Linked DNA regions of Homo sapiens: all the other regions are linked to region 3. The links are contacts of gene promoters, found by promoter capture Hi-C in blood cells and fetal thymus (Javierre and others, 2016). All regions are on one chromosome and are shown on one strand. Each heading gives the region's core, a stretch centred on a gene start or on the middle of the fragment in contact. The rest is flanking DNA. Distances are from core to core; before and after follow the strand shown. Region 1 overlaps STARD4-AS1 (STARD4 antisense RNA 1). Region 2 has its middle 22 kb from the start of NREP. Region 3 holds the start of EPB41L4A-AS1 (EPB41L4A antisense RNA 1).

Evidence for each region. Contacts are between HindIII fragments. The CHiCAGO score rates a contact against its expected background, and 5 or more counts as called.
Region 1: a contact is called between a fragment that was not itself captured here and the fragment with the promoter of EPB41L4A-AS1 in region 3, in 1 of 17 cell types (M2 macrophages). The highest score is 5.8, in M2 macrophages.
Region 2: a fragment that was not itself captured here is called in contact with the fragment with the promoter of EPB41L4A-AS1 in region 3 in 2 of 17 cell types (M0 macrophages and M1 macrophages); the score reaches 5.5 in M0 macrophages.

What each region holds. Positions count from the first base shown.
Region 1 is chr5:111,675,613-111,678,589 of GRCh38, reverse strand. All of the region lies in intron 2 of STARD4-AS1 (STARD4 antisense RNA 1), which reads right to left. Among named protein-coding and RNA genes, the nearest start is that of NREP, 80 kb to the left of the region's middle. The HindIII fragment of the contact is 2,919 bases long and covers 228-2,977 here.
Region 2 is chr5:111,777,536-111,780,689 of GRCh38, reverse strand. It overlaps a transcript of NREP not described here. Among named protein-coding and RNA genes, the nearest start is that of NREP, 22 kb to the right of the region's middle. The HindIII fragment of the contact is 658 bases long and covers 1,494-2,151 here.
Region 3 is chr5:112,159,276-112,161,775 of GRCh38, reverse strand. It overlaps EPB41L4A-AS1 (EPB41L4A antisense RNA 1), which reads right to left and starts at 1,250. Exons shown (of 3, transcript NR_015370.2): 1 at 481-1,250; 2 at 1-73. SNORA13 (small nucleolar RNA, H/ACA box 13) reads right to left here and starts at 291; the gene lies at 159-291. It also overlaps a transcript of EPB41L4A not described here. RefSeq lists enhancers at 446-495, 606-655, 676-775, 551-1,283, 1,156-1,365 and 1 more. The HindIII fragment of the contact is 7,805 bases long and covers 1-2,500 here.

The DNA.
Region 1 (2,977 bases), core at 438-2,937, 480 kb after region 3:
CCATTCCATGAGATTGCCAATTGAAGCAACAAACAGTTGGGCAGGAAGGTACAAGGGAAAAAGGAAAAAATGGCACTGACCACTGGGCTTCCCAACACGGTGAGCACAAGCTGGACATCTGTCCATGATGGAGGTACCACTGGCTACCCTGAGTGACAGCCTGGCAGATGATGACATGAGCTGCAGGAGACCTTGGTTTAACCAAGGGATCATCATTCTAATAAGCTTCTTTCTAAGCTCTGCAGCAAAGGGTTAAAACTAGGGGGTGGAGAATAGGGAAAGATCCTTGAGATAAGGATGCTCTGGGGTTAAAATGATAAACTAGAGTTTATAAAAACTTCATTGAACTAAAAATATCACTGTCCTAGACTAAGTTTAACCTGGAATGAGAAAGAAGATAAGGTATCTGTTCCAGAAAGATTTTGTAGCATGTGTATGTGTGTGATAGGAAAAAGGCTTGAAGAAGAAGAGGGGAAAGACCAGGAAAGGTTATGTAGTATGAGAATAAGGTAGGCTCTATGCTTGCACAGATTTCCCATCTGCTGTACATCTTCTTTCCTCTCTTTGTTCCTAAGGAAACTTCTCTGTCCCCTTTCATGGAGTCATAACAATGGAAGAGGTTCAGGAGAAAGGAATCAGCTCCTTGCAAGGTAAAAAGAGTTAAGAGGGTTTTTTTGTTGTTGTCATTGTTTGCTTTTAAATACTATAATTTTAAAACAATGTACTGGGAAGAACACTGCAAATGGAATTCAGGAGATCAAAGAAACCTGGGATAAATATCTCGAATTCTCTCAGGCTCAATTTCCTACTCTATAAAGTCTGGTATTTGGTAGCATTAGATGACTTCTAAGATTTCCTCCATTATACTTACATTATAATTTCTGCTCTACTTCATGAACTGGAAGGGACCTTAGGGCCCGTCAAAACCCTGAGCCAATATAAGAACATTCTCTGGGATAATTCACAAAGTGTGTTACATTTTATGAATAAGTGTTTTTAATGCCTTAGTATAAATTGGTACTTTTTTTAATATAAAGGAATTGTGGACCAGAAGAGTGGTTTTCTTCGTCATGTTACTAAAATTGAGTTCCATCAGTTTTGTGTGCGAGTACATTATTTATCCACCAAAAACCTCAAAACTGGGGCTACAAGCAGAGTTTCTCAGAAGTTCCTTGTAAAGAAGTATAAGGGCTAAGCCATTGCTACACCTTTGCCAGGTGATGTTCAAGGATAAATGCTTTTAGGGTTGGGGGGTTATGCTAGTGGCAACAATAGAGATACCCCTAAACTGCAGGTGCTCAATAACTGCAAAATTTTGTTTCTTGCTCATGTGAAGTCACGTGGGTCAGCAGAGCTCTCTACTATCCAGTGACTCAGGGGTGAAGGCTCTCTCCATCTTGTCTGCCAGCACTTCAACATATGACTTTAAGTTCTTCTGATCAGGAGGAAGAAGGATACGGGAGACACAGCAACAGTTAGGAACCTAGGACCAGAAGTGCCATGTCACTTCTGCTCTCATTCCTATCTGCCAGAACTCTGTCACATGGTCCCAACCCAGCTGAAAGGACCTGGAAAATGCAGGAAAGCACATGTCTATTCAGTGGGCACGAGTTGTCTCTGGATGAATTGATGCAATCAGGGACATAAAGCCACCAAGTGAGAGCAATTCCCTGCCTTGTGTGTTTGGAATAAATGACCAAAAGTCTTGGTTTTTAATCTGTGGCTTCTTTAAACTATTTTTATTCTAAAAAACACTTAGTTTTGAAAAACTGAGGGAACTTTGCTAGGAAGTGTGTCTTCTAAACTCTTCTTCATCACATCTGGAGAGGGAGTTGCCTTTAAGTGGCTGCATCACACTGTTGATTCATCATAAAGTTTAAGCCAACAAAAATCCCGATTTAATTGTTGGGAGAAATTGCTGCCAAGCCAGACCTTCAGATCCTGTAACTGTGCCATTTATTTTGCTTTAAACCTAAATGTAAGACTTTATATTTATTCTAAGTGTCATCCTGTTATTTTCAGACAATTGCTTCAGCCTTCTGAATTTTTAATTCAGTCATCTACTGTAATATCTATTTCTTCAATATTTGCATCATACAGCAATTTGGTGAGCATATCTTCTGTGTCTACATCCAAGTTCTTGAAAAACTAGGCCAAGGGCAGAGCCCTCCAATAGAACCAGAGACCTCCCTTGAGAGGCATCACGATTCATTAATAAACACAGTGGGTTTATTTGTTCCACTAGCTTCAAATCCTCCTTACCTTATTATCAACCAGTTCACATTTCTCCAATTTCTCAAGGACTTTTAAGATTTCATAGCACATCTAGATGAAAACCGAACTCGTTATCTCCCTTCCTAAGCCCCCTCCTTCTCCTGAATTATCTACCCATTAATGGCACCACCATTCAGCCCACTGTGCCAGCAATCTGGGAGCAATCCCACAGTCTCTCTCCTTCCTCTCCCTGAGAAGTGAACTTGAGTCAGTCCTGACACTTCGCAACTGGGGCTGCCATCCCCTCAAGCCTGTACCACTGCTTCCAAGGTTTTCTGTGGGTCTCTGGGCATTCCTCCTCCAGTCTATCCTCTTCATCTTCACTCAGTGATCTTTCAAAACACAAGTCACATCATATTACACCCTCTGATGAAAACCCATTGAAACTCCCCAGTATAAGGAAAATGTTAAAAATATTTAACATGTAGTTTGGCATAGGCAATGACCAAACAGAAGGCCAGCAGGGCTACTCCAGATGGAAAGCAGGGCACCTTCTATTCTCAGATCCTAAATGTTTCTAGGTGGCACCCTTCCATCTCCTCAGCCTCCATGCAGAGGTTTCAGCAGACCCCACATTTGCATCTGAACACGCTAGCTCTGCTTTCTCAACTTTCTCAAAGCTCCTCCCTCAACACAGAAAGGGTCTTTCTCCTCTGAGGCAGGAAAGCATTTTATACATTCAACCCCATGCCCTGGTTTTTGG
Region 2 (3,154 bases), core at 573-3,072, 380 kb after region 3:
GAATTGTCTAACTGTGCTTCATATTATTTCCCTATTCTCTACCACTCAAAACAAGATTTGAAATCCAGTCTCCTTCCATGATTTACATACACAATGAAATACACTCCCCACCAAACATATACTAGCAAATAAAAATACTCCTTCAAGTCGGTTACACTGACTTGACTGATGTTTGCAGCAATGAGTGGGATTTACATTGTAGCCAAATAACTTAGAATATTGAAAACCCCTAATTTAAAAAGCTCTATGACTCTTTCCTGTGTTCCAGAGCTTTCCTCTCTCCCTGTTTCCCTCTATTTTCTTATCTGCCTCTTCTCTCACAGTAGCAAAAACTTTAAATACCTTTCATTTTCTTATGCAAAATAATTCAGTTTAGCTCTGCTAAATCTCCATACACCATACTCAGTGCATAGACTCTTTTTAAATCCAAAGTCCCACTAATGTATTCTGCTAAACCAAATGCCATCTAAATCTGAGGGTCACTCTTGCTTCCTACTCCATCTCTTTCTGCAAGAGAAAGGAACAGTGAAGAGATTTATTCCTCCAATTAAATAAATTATGCCCCATTCCCACCCCCGTGTTCTCCACGGGAAGGCAGAAGTTGCTCTGTTCAGTTGTGGTTTAAAATGACAATTTCCCCCTCTGCATTGCACTAGCGTGCATTGGATCACGGCCAGCACTATCCACTTAAGTTTTCCATCTCTGATTTCCAAAGCATTCAGGGAAAGCCTCAGCCTCAGACATTATGAATATGCCTAAGAACAGAACTTCTGAGGCAAAAATAAAAATAATAAAAAATCACAATTTAATCAAGAGAGAGCCCTCAAGTACCCATTTAATAGGTAAGCTATGTTCTTGTCCTCTCTCATACTGTACAATTCAGCATCTGATTGAGTTGCCTTTCCAAAGCCTACTGTTAAGTCCTATAAACTTTCAGAAATGGATTGACCCAGGAGAAGCCTTTATAGAAACATCTAAATATGAAAGATATACTCTCTGAATAGTCTCTAGCCAGATTCTGGAAGAATATTGGTTCTCACGGGCAAGCCATAATACAAATTCCCACTTGTTTCTCCACAGTCATGTCCTCACTACTGCCCTTACCCCCTTTCTTGGAGAGTTTGACCTAAGCCTCTCCTCCTGGTTCTCATAGCTCCAGTGAATGGGAGGGCACATGTGACATCACATACCTGTTTATGGCTAAATGAATCATGGTAACTAATCCAATTAGATTGTTTTCCTGGGGCAATGAGCTAAGACTAACAGACAGTAGCTAAAATAGTCTGAGCAGAGCAGAGCAAACCTCCCGGCAGAGACAGAAGCACAAAGCAGGTGCAGAGCTGTGTGACAGGATGCACACTGGCGTCTAGAGCTGGGAAAAGAAGTGAAGTTCCAGAAAGCCATCTAGTTCCTGCTTCCAACCCCTTAGGAGGTCTGGATGCACCCCTTGCTTTCTGGCTTGCTGAGATAGCCCAACAACACAGCAATAAGCTTATCTTAATGCATCAGCTAGTTTGTAGCCAAGTGAACAGAAATTATTCTACATGGGATGGGAGAAAGAAAAATAGGAATGTATTTTAATTTCTTTTCATATATTTCAAATAAATTTTCAAATAAGTTTATGTACTCTTTTTTGGGTATATATGTTAAGTAGGGAAGACTCATATATCAAGGAGTTTCAATAAAGTATGATTGCAACGTAAAGGTTGCTACAAGATGTTCTTCTATGATATTCGAGGACCATTAAAAAAATAAAACATACTTTAGTACTGAATGAAATGTCATGGTGAACTTCTTATCCTTGGTAACCAAAGAACTTGCTTAAAAAATCATCGTATGCTGTTGAAGTATCTCTGAAGATATTTTACATGTAGTAACCTCTGTATAGTGAATTTTATTTGAGGGGGCTTCATAGGAGAGCTTTGCAAGATGTTAAAGAATATGCTGTTTGTCAACTTTCTGAAGAAATCTCTGCTTTTTAGGGCCTCACAGCCAAACAAACAAACACAAACAAACTTGTAAAGCAATACTGAAAAATATGTGCCCATTCCAAGAAATGGAGTGAAATACATTAGCAAATTAAGAAATGTAATGGAGTGTGGGAAAAGCCTACATCACAATTAAATAAGGACTTTGACTCCATGTAAAGCTTCATGTATAACTCTTTATATAAGGAATTCATACTACTGACAATTGGCCATGAAATAGACAAAAAGGACATGGTTTAGAGGACAAGAAGTAGGCCCCACACTCACTAACTGTTAAGCACACTACTTAAACCCAGTGAGCCTCTGTTTCCTCACTCGTAGTGAGGATGACAACATTATTTACCTCAATGGGATGTTGTGGACATTTAACACTATGATGCATATAAAGCACTTGGCACGTGCATTGATGTTGTCAATAAATCTCAGACCACTTGTAGCAGTAATTTTTGTTATCTGCATTATTACAAATGTATCTGGATATTCTAGGGCAATTCTCTTAGCATATGAAGAGTTTGATGTGCTGGCTGGAGATTGGCAAGCAACTTGCCTCTGCTTGACAAGACCACTCCCACTTCTGATGTGTGCCTGTGTGTATGCATTAAATTGTTCTGTACTAAATCCTATGATTTCTGCCACCAGGTATCAGTTTCTTGGGCTTTCTTTAGCTTGTTCTACGTACAGGCAAAACAGAGAAGTTGTTTTGATATTTTGCTGTTTAACATTTCAAATTACCAGCAAAACAATGAAATTCCTGGACCTCCCATACCCTATTTATCTCAATCAGCAACCTATTTCATGTGAGCCATCACACAGGCAATCAGAGCACAATTGGACTAGATGGGGAAAGTGATGGGACCTACTAGGAGAATACAATTGGGACCTGGCCATACTTTAGTTATACAAAGTATAACTGTGATACATTTCCCTTGTTTTCTCCACACCTATAATTTCTAGAACTTTGCCAGTCTTAAACTATGCACCATGCCCTCAAAAACGTTGCTTTTTCTTCCTTAGATCACTCAAAGTTACATAAACAGCATTTTGGACTTAAAAATTGAGCTCAAAACACTCTTGTTACTGAATACCACAAATATACACATAATGGTTAATGTGCAACTACACTGAAGCATTGTCGTATTTACTCCTAGATGTCTCACCTCTCTAAC
Region 3 (2,500 bases), core at 1-2,500:
CTTCAGGTCACCTTTATGCTCCCAGATGGTATTCAGCTAGCAGCAGTCTACACTTCAGGCATCCATCTTCCACCTGAACAAAAATTAGAACTGGCTAAGAGAAACCATACACTTAAGGCTAGCAGGGTCAAGATCACGCGTGGAAACGTAAAAGCAGCAACTGTTACTTATGCAGCTCCTACACCAAAGGTATCAAATTTAAGGGCAGGAAAAGGCTGCAAAGCGTTTAATTTACGCCTTTTTTGACACCACATTCACTAGTTTCCAAAGTGAATGGGCAACACAAAGGCTGACACTGCGTGAGGTAGGCTTTATGGCATAAGGTTGCTGACTGGCTGACAGTAATGCCGATTACAGCCTAAAAACGGACAATACATTTCAGAGAAATTTTCTCACGATTTAAAATCCGACTTAATAATGAAAAGTGAAATGCGATGCGTTTTAAATGGCGACTGGTCTTGCACGAACGTGAAAACTCACCTGTAGGGTAGGTGATCACTCCCGACGAGCACCGCACGTGGAAACAGCTGTAACCAGGCACGCTGCTTTTAAGTTATTTTATACGGGGGCAGGGCAAGCATAAAGTCAGTTATACGGTAAGGCCTTTTCACTGACGAAAATAAAACCAGGCTTATCTGGAGAACTCCCTGGCATAGTCGATGATGTAAACACAAATCGACGAAGCTCCCCGTTTCCAAACGTGGGAACGCAGGCCTGAGGCCAGGCCGCTGCCCTTGTTCACGGCCCCGGACACTTCGGACACAGGCCGCCGCAGTCGACTCACCAGACTCAGGGTGGCCGCGTTCCCCCGCCCGGCGCCCCTGCGTGAGAGACCACGCGGCCACAGCCAGGCGCCATCCCAGAGGACCCAGAGCAAAAACCACAGCAAGCTCGCACCAAAAGGAAGAAAGGACAGGCTTCCGTCCCACAATGCTTTTCTACAAGTGGAAGGACCCACTGTCCGAGAGCGCGAGGGGGGAGCGGGCTGTACCATCGGCCGCTGCGCTATGGCGAGACGCCGCCGTGTGGCCGGAGGGAGAAGTGCCAGTGAGGGACCGAGGGGCGTGTCACCAAAGGGAGGAGGAGCCTGGGTTCTCAGCCCGAGTCACCTCTGCGGATGTGTGGCCAGTTCTTTCCACAGAGGAGGTATCCAGACATCCCCCCACCCGACCAGGGTCAAGAGCATATGATCAGTGCTGGCAGCGGCAGGAGCCCAAAGGACTTTAGACCACGTATTTTGGGACCCGACAGAATTCATGAGTCCAGCTGAGGAAGAGTAGAGTCATTCATTCGAAAGATATTTAGTCAGCACTTACTATGCTCCAGGCCCTGGCCTGAGTGCCTGGGAATCAGGTGTGGGTGAGCCAGGCAAGGTTTCTGTGGTACATTCTGCTTGGGTGAGTAGGCCACTGACCAAGTGAGCCCGGATGCTGAAATTCTACAATGTAAGTGCCAGGAGGGCAGCAAAAGAGGGTCATGCCATAGGGTAGCGCTGTCCGATGGAAACAGTGTGAGCCATGAGTGTAATTTTAAATTTTCCAATTGCCACATAAAATGTGAAAAGAACGCCGGGCGCGGTGGCTCATGCCTGTAATCCCAGCACTTTGGCAGGCTGAGGCAGGTGATCACCTGAAGTCAGGAGTTCAAGACCAGCCTGGCCAACATGGCAAAACCCCGTCTCTACTAAAAATACAAAAATTACTTGGGCTTGGTGGCGGGCGTCTATAATCCCAGCTACTTGGGAGGCTGAGGCAGGAGAAATGGCTTGAACCCGGGCGGGGTGGGGGTGGAGGTTGCGGTGAGCCGAGATCATGCCACTTGACTCCAGCCTGGACAAAAGGGCGAAACTCCGTCTCAAAAAAAAAAAAAAAAAAGTAAAAAGAAACAGATCAAATTAATTTTAATAATAACCCAACATATTTTAAATATTTCAACAGGCAATCAATATGAGATTATTAATAAGATATTTCTTTTATATCTACTAAGTCATAAAAATCCGGTGTATATTTTATACTTCCAGCACATTTCCGTTCAGACTAGACACATTTCAAGTGTTCAGTAGCTCATGGGGCTAGGAATAGGAAGACTGGAAGTGAACTCCGAGCAGATGTGTGAAGGCGGTTATGCAAGATCTGGAGACAGCAGGCCTTGGCCAGTGTGGCTGGAGTCGAGTAAGGAGTGTAGAGTGACAAGATGCAGCTGGAGAGCCAGGCAGGAGCAAGGCACTTAGGGTCTTGTCACACAGGGCAAGGTGTTGGGATTTTATGCTGAAATCTTAGAGTTGATTAATTATCACCACAAAAATTAAGCAGAGTTTGTTAATTGGCTTTTTTCCTGATAACCATAACTCCTTGAAGGGACAGGACAAGTGGCAGCAAGACAAGTTGTATGATAACAACTAGGTCTCCATGTTTCTCTAAGTCCTAGCAGAGATTCATCCAGAGACCAGTTTTAGCACCTTTCGTTGTTTCTTTGAAGCCTACTTCTATAAAAGAAAGAA